Regions from separate parts of the Homo sapiens genome. Here region 1 is linked to region 2. Evidence: promoter capture Hi-C in 16 types of primary human blood cells and fetal thymus (Javierre and others, 2016). All regions are on one chromosome and are shown on one strand. The core of a region is centred on a gene start or on the middle of the fragment in contact, and the rest is flanking DNA. Distances in the headings are between cores, read along the strand shown. Region 1 overlaps NOL6 (nucleolar protein 6). Region 2 holds the start of SMU1 (SMU1 DNA replication regulator and spliceosomal factor).

Region 1 (4,084 bases), core at 117-2,616, 390 kb after region 2:
GAGGAGTTTCTGGGGTTCTGGTACTTGCAAAAGGGACAGAGTCTGGGCTGAGACATCAGGGGAACACAGATTGGGGGCCCATTGGTACCTGGTGGTAAGTAGAGGCAGTGACATCAGCACAGAGGTTGAGATGGCCTGAGGAATCCAGGAAGACAACGGAGAAGGCCTGGTGGAAGTCAGCCAGGGCCGGCTTGGGGGGTGTAGAGAGAAGCAGGTCAGGATTGGCACCTTACTTGCAGGCCTCCTGGCATAGACCTGGCCCTTCCCCAACTCACCAAAGAGGGATCTGAGCTGAGACATAAACTGATCCCGTTGACTGTCAGGTCTGTAGTGGCTGAAGTGAATCACAAGTGTATTAGAAGGTATCCCCTTCTGGGGACCCAGCCCTAATGACACCCTCCCTCAGCCGATTCAGTTTGCTCATCTGTCTGATGGCAAAACACCAAAAGACTGCTACTGGGATGAGAGGATTCCCAGGAGGAGTGGAGCCCCTGGCCTTTCCCCACCTAGTTGCCTCACCCAGAAACTGCAAGACACTTCTCAGGACCTGGTAGCCACTCATGGTGGTATGGATCTTGCGTGTAGACACAAGGAAGACAACCAGCATGGAGACAAGGAACCCAGTAAACCCACCCTGGCCCTGAAAGAGACAGGGAGAGGCTGAGGTCAGAGCCTGCCCATCACACAGGCGCTCAGGTAGGGAGGCTGCGCCACCCCCAACTCACCTTGTCCAGCTCCCGCTGCCGCAGCCAGACCTTCAGAAGTGCCACGCCATCCTTCAGGCCCTGGGCTGAACTCAGAATGGTTGACAGCAGCTGCAAATGGGACTCGAGAACTGTATCTTGCAGGACCCATGTGTTATAGCGGGGGGTAGGAGGCTCTGGGCTACCTGTGGGATGAAAAGGGAAGCCATGAGAGGAAAAGTCCCCACACCTCTTCCCTCCAGCTCCACCTCAACACCAGGGCCTGCTCACCATCCCCTGCAGGACTCTGCCCTCGGTACCAGGCAGAGCGCACATTGTTCTTGGTTGGCAGCAAGCGGCACGGGCGGAAGAAGTCAGGTGGAGGGCACGGATGCAGACGTACAGTGACCAGGCGCTCATCCTTTCCTGCCAGAGACAGTGAGTGCTGAGACTCTGCAGGAGCCCTTGGAGCCAGAGGGCTCCCCATCCTGTCCCCCCATACTTGAGGCCTCCGTGCCTCTGTGCCTTCTCCTCCAGATTTACCATCCCATGCTATGCCCTCAGCCCAATGTGTGCCTCTCACCACGCGGCCGCAGCAACAGTGAGGGTTTCAGGTGGCAGCCATTTGTGTAGGAGAAGCAAACACTGCCAAAGAGGGGGTCCTGGGCCAGGTGGTGAGCCAAGTGGGCCAGGTAGAGGGCACGCTTGCGGAAGTAGCGCTGGTTCAGCCCGTCCTTGTCCTGTAGGATTTCCTGGAGGGGCCAGGGGAGAAGAGAAGGCCAGGCACATAAGTGCTTGTGGAGCTGTGGGCCAAGGTGAAACCAAGGTGAGAGAGCCAGGGCTCCTCTGCTGACAGAAGTGCCTGAGCCACGGTTAGCAACACTAGGCCCAGTTCTCATATCTGGAGAGCAAAGCTCCAAAAGGACAGCAACTGGCCCGAGGGATCTAAGCTGCCTTCAGGATGCCTGCAATGGTCTGCTCTTCTGATTTAGAATTCTGACTTCAATCCCCTGGCAAGCGGCAGATAAGAAAGAGGGATCCAGGATTTGTAGGTAGTCAGGTGGTGGGCCTCTATCCCCTAAACCCTGGACCTTACCCTGGGCATGGTCAGTGCCACATCCACATTGATGTCTGGTCGGATGCAGGTGCCCAGAAGGTAGCTGCCCACAACAGTAACCTGGGCTGGGGGCAGGAAGCGGAAACAGCCCTTCACGGCATAGGGCACTTGGTGGAGGGGCACTCGAACCCCAGCTGGGAGCCATGCCTGGTCAGTGAGCTGTGGGGGCAGAGACAGGGACACATACTGATTCAACTGCCTTCCTCACATGTACCCTTTATGTCTAGAAGACATTTTAACACATCGATATGTTTGAAACCAAACTCCCAATCTTCCCATAACTATGTCTTCCTTGCTAAGACAACTCCATATGAGTTGCTCAAGCCAAAACCACTTAAATCACCTTAACTTAGCTCTGTTAAGAATACCCATTTTACGAGCCGGGCGTGGTGGCTCACGCCTGTAATCCCAGCACTTTGGGAGGCCGAGGTGGGCGGATCACGAGGTCAGAAGATCGAGACCATCCTGGCTAACACGGTGAAACCCCGTCTCTACAAAAATAATTAGCCGGGCATGGCGGCGTGCGCCTGTAGTCCCAGCTGCTGGGGAGGCTGAGGCAGAAGAATGGCGTGAACCCGGAAGGCGGAGCATGCAGTGAGCCGAGATCGCACCACTGCACTACAGCCTGGGGAACAGAGCAAGACTCTGTCTCAAAAAAAAAAAGAATACCCATTTTACTACCAAAATGTATTCAGAAATGGATCACTTCTCTAAAAAGAAAACTTTTTTAAAACAGAGAGAGGAAAAGATTTAAAAAAAAAAAAAAAAAAGAAAGAAATGGATCACTTCACTACTTTCCTCCCTAGTTTGAGGAGCCACCATTTCTCAGTGCCTAGACTAGTTCCTAACTGGTCTCTCTAATCTCATCATTGTCCCTCTCGATTCTACTTTTGACACAACAGCCGGAGTAAATTTTTCTAAAACTAAACTTTTTAAGGCTGGAAAAGTGAACGTTTTAGGCTGGGCACGGTGGCTCACACCTGTAATCCCAGCACTTTGGAAGGCCAAGGAGAGCAAATTACCTGAGGTCAGGAGTTCAAAACTAACCTGGCCAACATGGTGAAACCCCCTCTCTACTAAAAATACCAAAAAAATTAGCCGGGTGTGATAATCCCAGCTACTCGGGAGGCTGAGGCAGGAGAATAGCTTGAACCCGAGAGGTGGAGGCTGCAGTGAACTGAGATCGCGCCATTGCACTCCAGTGTGGAGGACAAGAGCGAGACTTCGTCTCAAAAACAAAAACAAAAACGTGAACTTTTAAAAGTTAGAGGGCATCACTGTTCTGCAAAATAAAATCCAGCAGTGGCTCCCCATCTCACCCAGAGCAACAGCCAAAGTCCCTACTTCGGGACACAATGCCCTGCATGATATGCTACTTTTCCCCATCACCTTTCTGAACTCATCTCCTTCTGTATTCCTCATTCATTCCAAGGAATGTAACTGGAACATTCCTGCCTTTGTGCCTTTGTACTGGCTGTTCCCCCTTCCTGGAATGCTTTTATTCCCTTAGATATCTATATAGCTGACTCACCTACTTCAAGTCTTTACACAAATGTCACTTCAATAAGGCCTACTTTGTGAACACCCCCTTTAAACTTGTAAACCACTCCCATCCTCTAATACTCCCAATCCCCTTACATTGCTCGTCCTACTTTTTCCTTTTTCCAGTGTTTACCACATTCTAACATTGCCATAGAGTTTACCTGTTATGCTTATCTATTAACTATAACCTCAGCATTACAGCATAGGCTATTATTTACTGATATATCCTAAGAACACAAATACTGCAAGGCATGGAAGTACTTGCTGAATGAATACACAAATGACCACGCTCCCAGCTAAGCTTCCTTGCTGTGAGAATGAGCTCCCTGCACCCCAACCCTTAAACAGAGTAACAGCAAGGCCCCTGTTTGATATACCCCCACTGGAGGTCTCTCTTGGGCTTCCCAGTTCCCCAGGCCACTTGCTTACCTCTGTCTCAGGGACTGAGGGCACCCTCACAACCCGCTGGTTGACCTCCCGTAGGAAGGCATCAATCCGATCCTTCTTCTTCTCTGACAGCCTTACTTCCTTTAGTAGCTCCTCTACCTGTAAGAGAGGGTAGAAGACAGTCCATCAGCCTCAGGGTCCCAGGTACACACCTCGAACAAAAGCTGCAGACACTCAACAGTACCTGTAAACGAAGCAAGCTGGAGTGGAACAAGATCTCAGTCTCCCGAAGGCGATTAAGCTCCTCATTGGTAGGCTCCTTGTACAGTTCTGCCCTGCTGAGCTTCACTGGCTG
Region 2 (4,095 bases), core at 818-3,317:
CTCAAAAAAATAAATAAAATAAAACCTATGAGGTAAGTTTACTTTTATCCCCAATTTACAGATGAGGATTTGATCAGATAATAGAGATAATAAGTGGAAAAATCAGGACTCAAACTGGCAGTGTGGCTCTAGAGCATGTATTCCTGAGGAGAAAGCAAACATCCTCTTTTTTTTTTTTTTTTTTGAGAAATGGTCACTTGCATCGCTCAGGCTGGACAGAATAGTGGCGTGATTGTGGCTGACTGCAGCCTGGGCCTCCTGGGATCAGGTGATCCTCTCACCTCAGCCTCCCGAGTAGCTGAGACCACAGGCATGCACCACCACACTGGCTAATTGTTGTATTTTTTGTAGAGACGTGGTTTTGCCATGTTGACCATGCTGGTCTCAAACTTCTGGGCTCAAGTGATCCATCCACCTCAGCTTCCCAAAGTGTTGAGATGACAGGTGTGAGCCACCGCACCTGGCCCCTCTTCTTAAAAACAACTATAGGCCGGCCGCGGTGGCTCACGCCTGTAATCTCACCACTTTGGAAGGCCGAGGCGGGCAGATCACAAGGTCAGGAGATCGAGACCATCCTGGCTAACACGGTGAAACCCCGTCTCTACTAAAAATACAAAAAAATTAGCCGGGCATGGTGGTGGGCGCCTGTAGTCCCAGCTACTCGGGAGGCTGAGGCAGGAGAATGGCGTGAACGTGGGAGGCGGTGCTTGCAGTGAGCGGAGATCGCGCCACTGCATTCCAGCCTGGGTGACAGAGTGAGACTCCGTCTCAAAAAAAAAAAAGGGAACTGATTGCTGCTACCTGCAGTAGTCTTTTTCTCTCATGGCCCCTTTATGAGGTATGCAGGTATCCAGACTTAGACCCCTGTTATTCTGCTATGATACTATCTTCCTTAGCACATGTCCGTTGACTTCCATTTTACACTCCCAAAATAAGTCATCTCTCTCCTCAAACAGCTCACATTTGACATAGCCAAAATCAAATTCCCTACCTTCAAACAGAAATGAATACATAAAGAGCTAGAAGCTTTGAAGATAGTCTGGGATTTGAATCAAAGTTATGTGACCTTGGACAAGTAGGTTAACATCATTTCAGTATTTGCTGAATGCATAAACCTCCCTTCCTCCTATGAAAAGTCTCCAAAAAAGGTCCTCTCCCTCCCTTACACTCAGACACAATTTTTATGTCTGTTAATTTAATTATTATTAAGTGTTGGCAAGGACAGGTGGAGGATGGAGTTCTGGAAAAGCACACTAAGGTCTTCTTTAGTCACTAATTCTCATCCCCTATTCCTTGAAAATTTTTCTTTCTAGCCCAGTCTCCAGTCTGTCTCTCCCCAGACAACCCAAAATTCCGTGCCAGATCGGGCCTGATAGTTGTTCATTCATTCCAAAAGCTAGTTGTTCATTCATTCCAAAAGCAATTAACTCTTCCTCTAAGGTATGCTAGACACTGAGACCACAAGGAAAAGGAGCTCCTAGGCACCGACAAAGGCTAGTTTGGGGTGAGGTTATCAAACAGTGACAATACTGAGTGATAAACGCTAGGCAGAGAAAAGCAAAGGGGCCGTATAAGCAGAGACAACGAATCACATTGCATAAGCTGGACAGGGAGAGAAGCAAGGCTTAAAGAGACCTATCCCCTTGCGCAGATAATTAGACTGGAGTCCAGAGTGGATCCTTAATTTGGTCAATCACAGCGCGCCAGCAGTCGGCCAAGGACAGAACTTAGGTCTGCAAGGTGTGTTTTCCCCACCCGTGCCACCTCCCTCGAGGTTTTGGGCTTCACGTCTGAGAGCTGCTACTTTCCTGTGGGCCCACCTCCGAGGTAGCGAGATCCAAGATGCTTCTTTGGGGGCAAGGAAATGGCCCTCCACTCCCTGGCCTCTCGGATGCCTTCTCCCGAGTACCCTCCGCCCCACACCCTTAACCTCCAGGCCCCCGGCAAGGCGCGAACATCCCCACCGCAGGACTCACTCCGAAGATTCGATTTCGATCGACATAGCCGTATCTCTCCGGGAGCAGGCCCCAGCTCTCCCTCAAGGCCAGTCGCGCAACACACCAACGACACCTCCGGCGGACACCTAACGTCACTTCCGCTTGGGTCGGCGTCTGGCTCCCGCTCTGGAGATAGAGTGAACGAAGAGTAGGGGCGAGGTTCGCGTAGGGGCGGAGCCCTCAGGGGCTGTCAGAGGGCGGAGTTTATGCCCCTGCCCCAGAGAAATACGCATCAGGAGGAAGACTGTTTAAAAGCAGGCCGGAGCCGGGTGCGGTGGCTCACGCTTGTAATCCCAACACTTTGGAAGGCCGAGGCGGGCGATCACCTGAGGTCGTGAGTTCGAGACCAGCCTGACCAACATGGAGAAACCCCCGTCTCTACTAAAAATACAAAATTAGCCGGGCGTAGTGGCGCATGCCTGTAATCCCTACTCGGGAGCCTGAGGCAGGAGAATCGCTTGAACCCAGGAGGCGGAGGTTGCGGTGAGCCGAGATCGCGCCATTGCACCCCAGCATGGAAAACAAGAGCGCAACTCCGTCTCAAAAAAAAAAAAAAAAAAAAAAGAAAGATAGAAAAGAAAAAGAAAAAAAGCACCGGGCGCCATACAGCTCACAAATGTACTGAAAAAGAAAAGCGCTGGGGCGGAGCGCGGTGGCTCGCGCCTGTACTCCCAGCGCGCGAGTTCGAGACCAGCCTGGGCAACATGGTGAAGCCCCGTCTCTACTAAAAATACAAAAAATTAGCCGGGCGTGGTGGCGGGGGCGCCTGTAATCTCAGCTACTCGGGAGTCTGTGGCAGGAGAATCGTTTCACCTCTGGAGGTGGATGCGGTGAGCCGAGATCACACCATTGCACTCCAGCCTGGGCAAGGAGAGCAAAATTCCGTCTCAAAAGAAGAAAAGAAAAGTAGTGGTGATAAGATTGTAGTAAGAAAAGCAAAGAAAAGAAAGAAGAAAAGAAAGAAAAGAAAAGAAAGAAAAGAAAGAGCACTGGTTTGGAAAGATTGCTTTTTTTTTGAGACGGAATCTCGCACTGTCGCCCGGGCTGAAGAGCACAATGGCGCGATCTCGGCTCACTGCAAACTCTGCCTCCCGGGTTCAGGAGATTCTCTTGCCTCAGCCTCCGGAGTAGCTGGGATTACAGGTTTCTTGCCATCACGCCAGGCTAATTTTTTGTATTTTTAGTAGAGATGGGATTTCACTATGTTGGTCAGGCTGTTCTCGAACTCCTGACCTCGTGATCCGCCCGCCTCGGTCTCCCAAAGTGCTGGGATTACAGGCGTGAGTCACTGCGCCCAGCCAATGTTGCTTTCGTTTGATGTAATTAGTTGATTAGATTTAAGATGAGGCTGAATATGCAATACCTGATGGGATATTAATACATTCAAAACCAACATAACACTAGCCAAAATTTATAGGAAGAGTTAATTGAGGATTTTGGTTGGTTGGTTGGTTTTGCGTTTTTTTGAATCAAGGACTCGCTTTGTTGCCCATGCTGGAGTGCAGTGTCTCGATCGTGGCACACTGCAGCCTCGACCCCTCCAGCTCAAGCAATCCTCCCACCTCAGCCACCCAAAGTGCTGGGATTACTGGCATGAGCCACCACGCCCTGTCACGGGACTTTAGGTCAAACACATTATTACATTTGTAGTGACAAATGAAATGTAGAGATATCAGTGAACTTCATACATAAAACCTATTTTTAAATATTTTATTGCTGTTGTATATAAATTGTAAAAATTATTTGCAGCACAGTAATAATAAATCTGGCCAGGCGTGGTGGCTCACGCCTGTAATCTCAGCACTTTGGGAGGCTGAGGCGGGTGGATCACCTGAGTTCAGGAGTTGGAGACCAGCCTGGCCAACATGGTGAAACCCCGTCTCTACTAAAAATAAGAAAATTTGCCAGGCAGATAGGTGTGCATCTGTAATCCCAGCTACTCGGGAGACTGAGGCAGGAGAATCCCTTGAACCCGGGAGGCAGAGGTTGCAGTGAGGAGAGATCGAACCACTGCACTCCACCCTGGGTGACCGAGTGACCAAAAAATAATAAATAAATAAATAAATAAAATAAATCTGTGTTCCGAAATTACATATTG

Evidence for each region. The method cuts DNA at HindIII sites, captures the fragments that hold promoters and counts their contacts. A CHiCAGO score of 5 or more calls a contact.
Region 1: a fragment that was not itself captured here is called in contact with the fragment with the promoter of SMU1 in region 2 in 6 of 17 cell types (naive B cells, non-activated CD4 T cells, fetal thymus and 3 more); the score reaches 6.6 in naive B cells.

Annotation. Positions count from the first base shown.
Region 1 is chr9:33,468,233-33,472,316 of GRCh38, forward strand. It overlaps NOL6 (nucleolar protein 6), which reads right to left. Exons shown (of 26, transcript NM_022917.5): 2 at 3,974-4,084; 3 at 3,772-3,888; 4 at 1,780-1,959; 5 at 1,267-1,435; 6 at 975-1,109; 7 at 726-889; 8 at 520-640; 9 at 276-334; 10 at 89-190. Among named protein-coding and RNA genes, the nearest start is that of MIR6851, 2.3 kb to the left of the region's middle. The HindIII fragment of the contact is 4,549 bases long and covers 1-3,641 here.
Region 2 is chr9:33,074,607-33,078,701 of GRCh38, forward strand. It overlaps SMU1 (SMU1 DNA replication regulator and spliceosomal factor), which reads right to left and starts at 2,068. Exons shown (of 12, transcript NM_018225.3): 1 at 1,977-2,068. The coding sequence starts at 2,002. RefSeq lists enhancers at 1,930-2,079, 2,250-2,449. The HindIII fragment of the contact is 3,581 bases long and covers 1,025-4,095 here.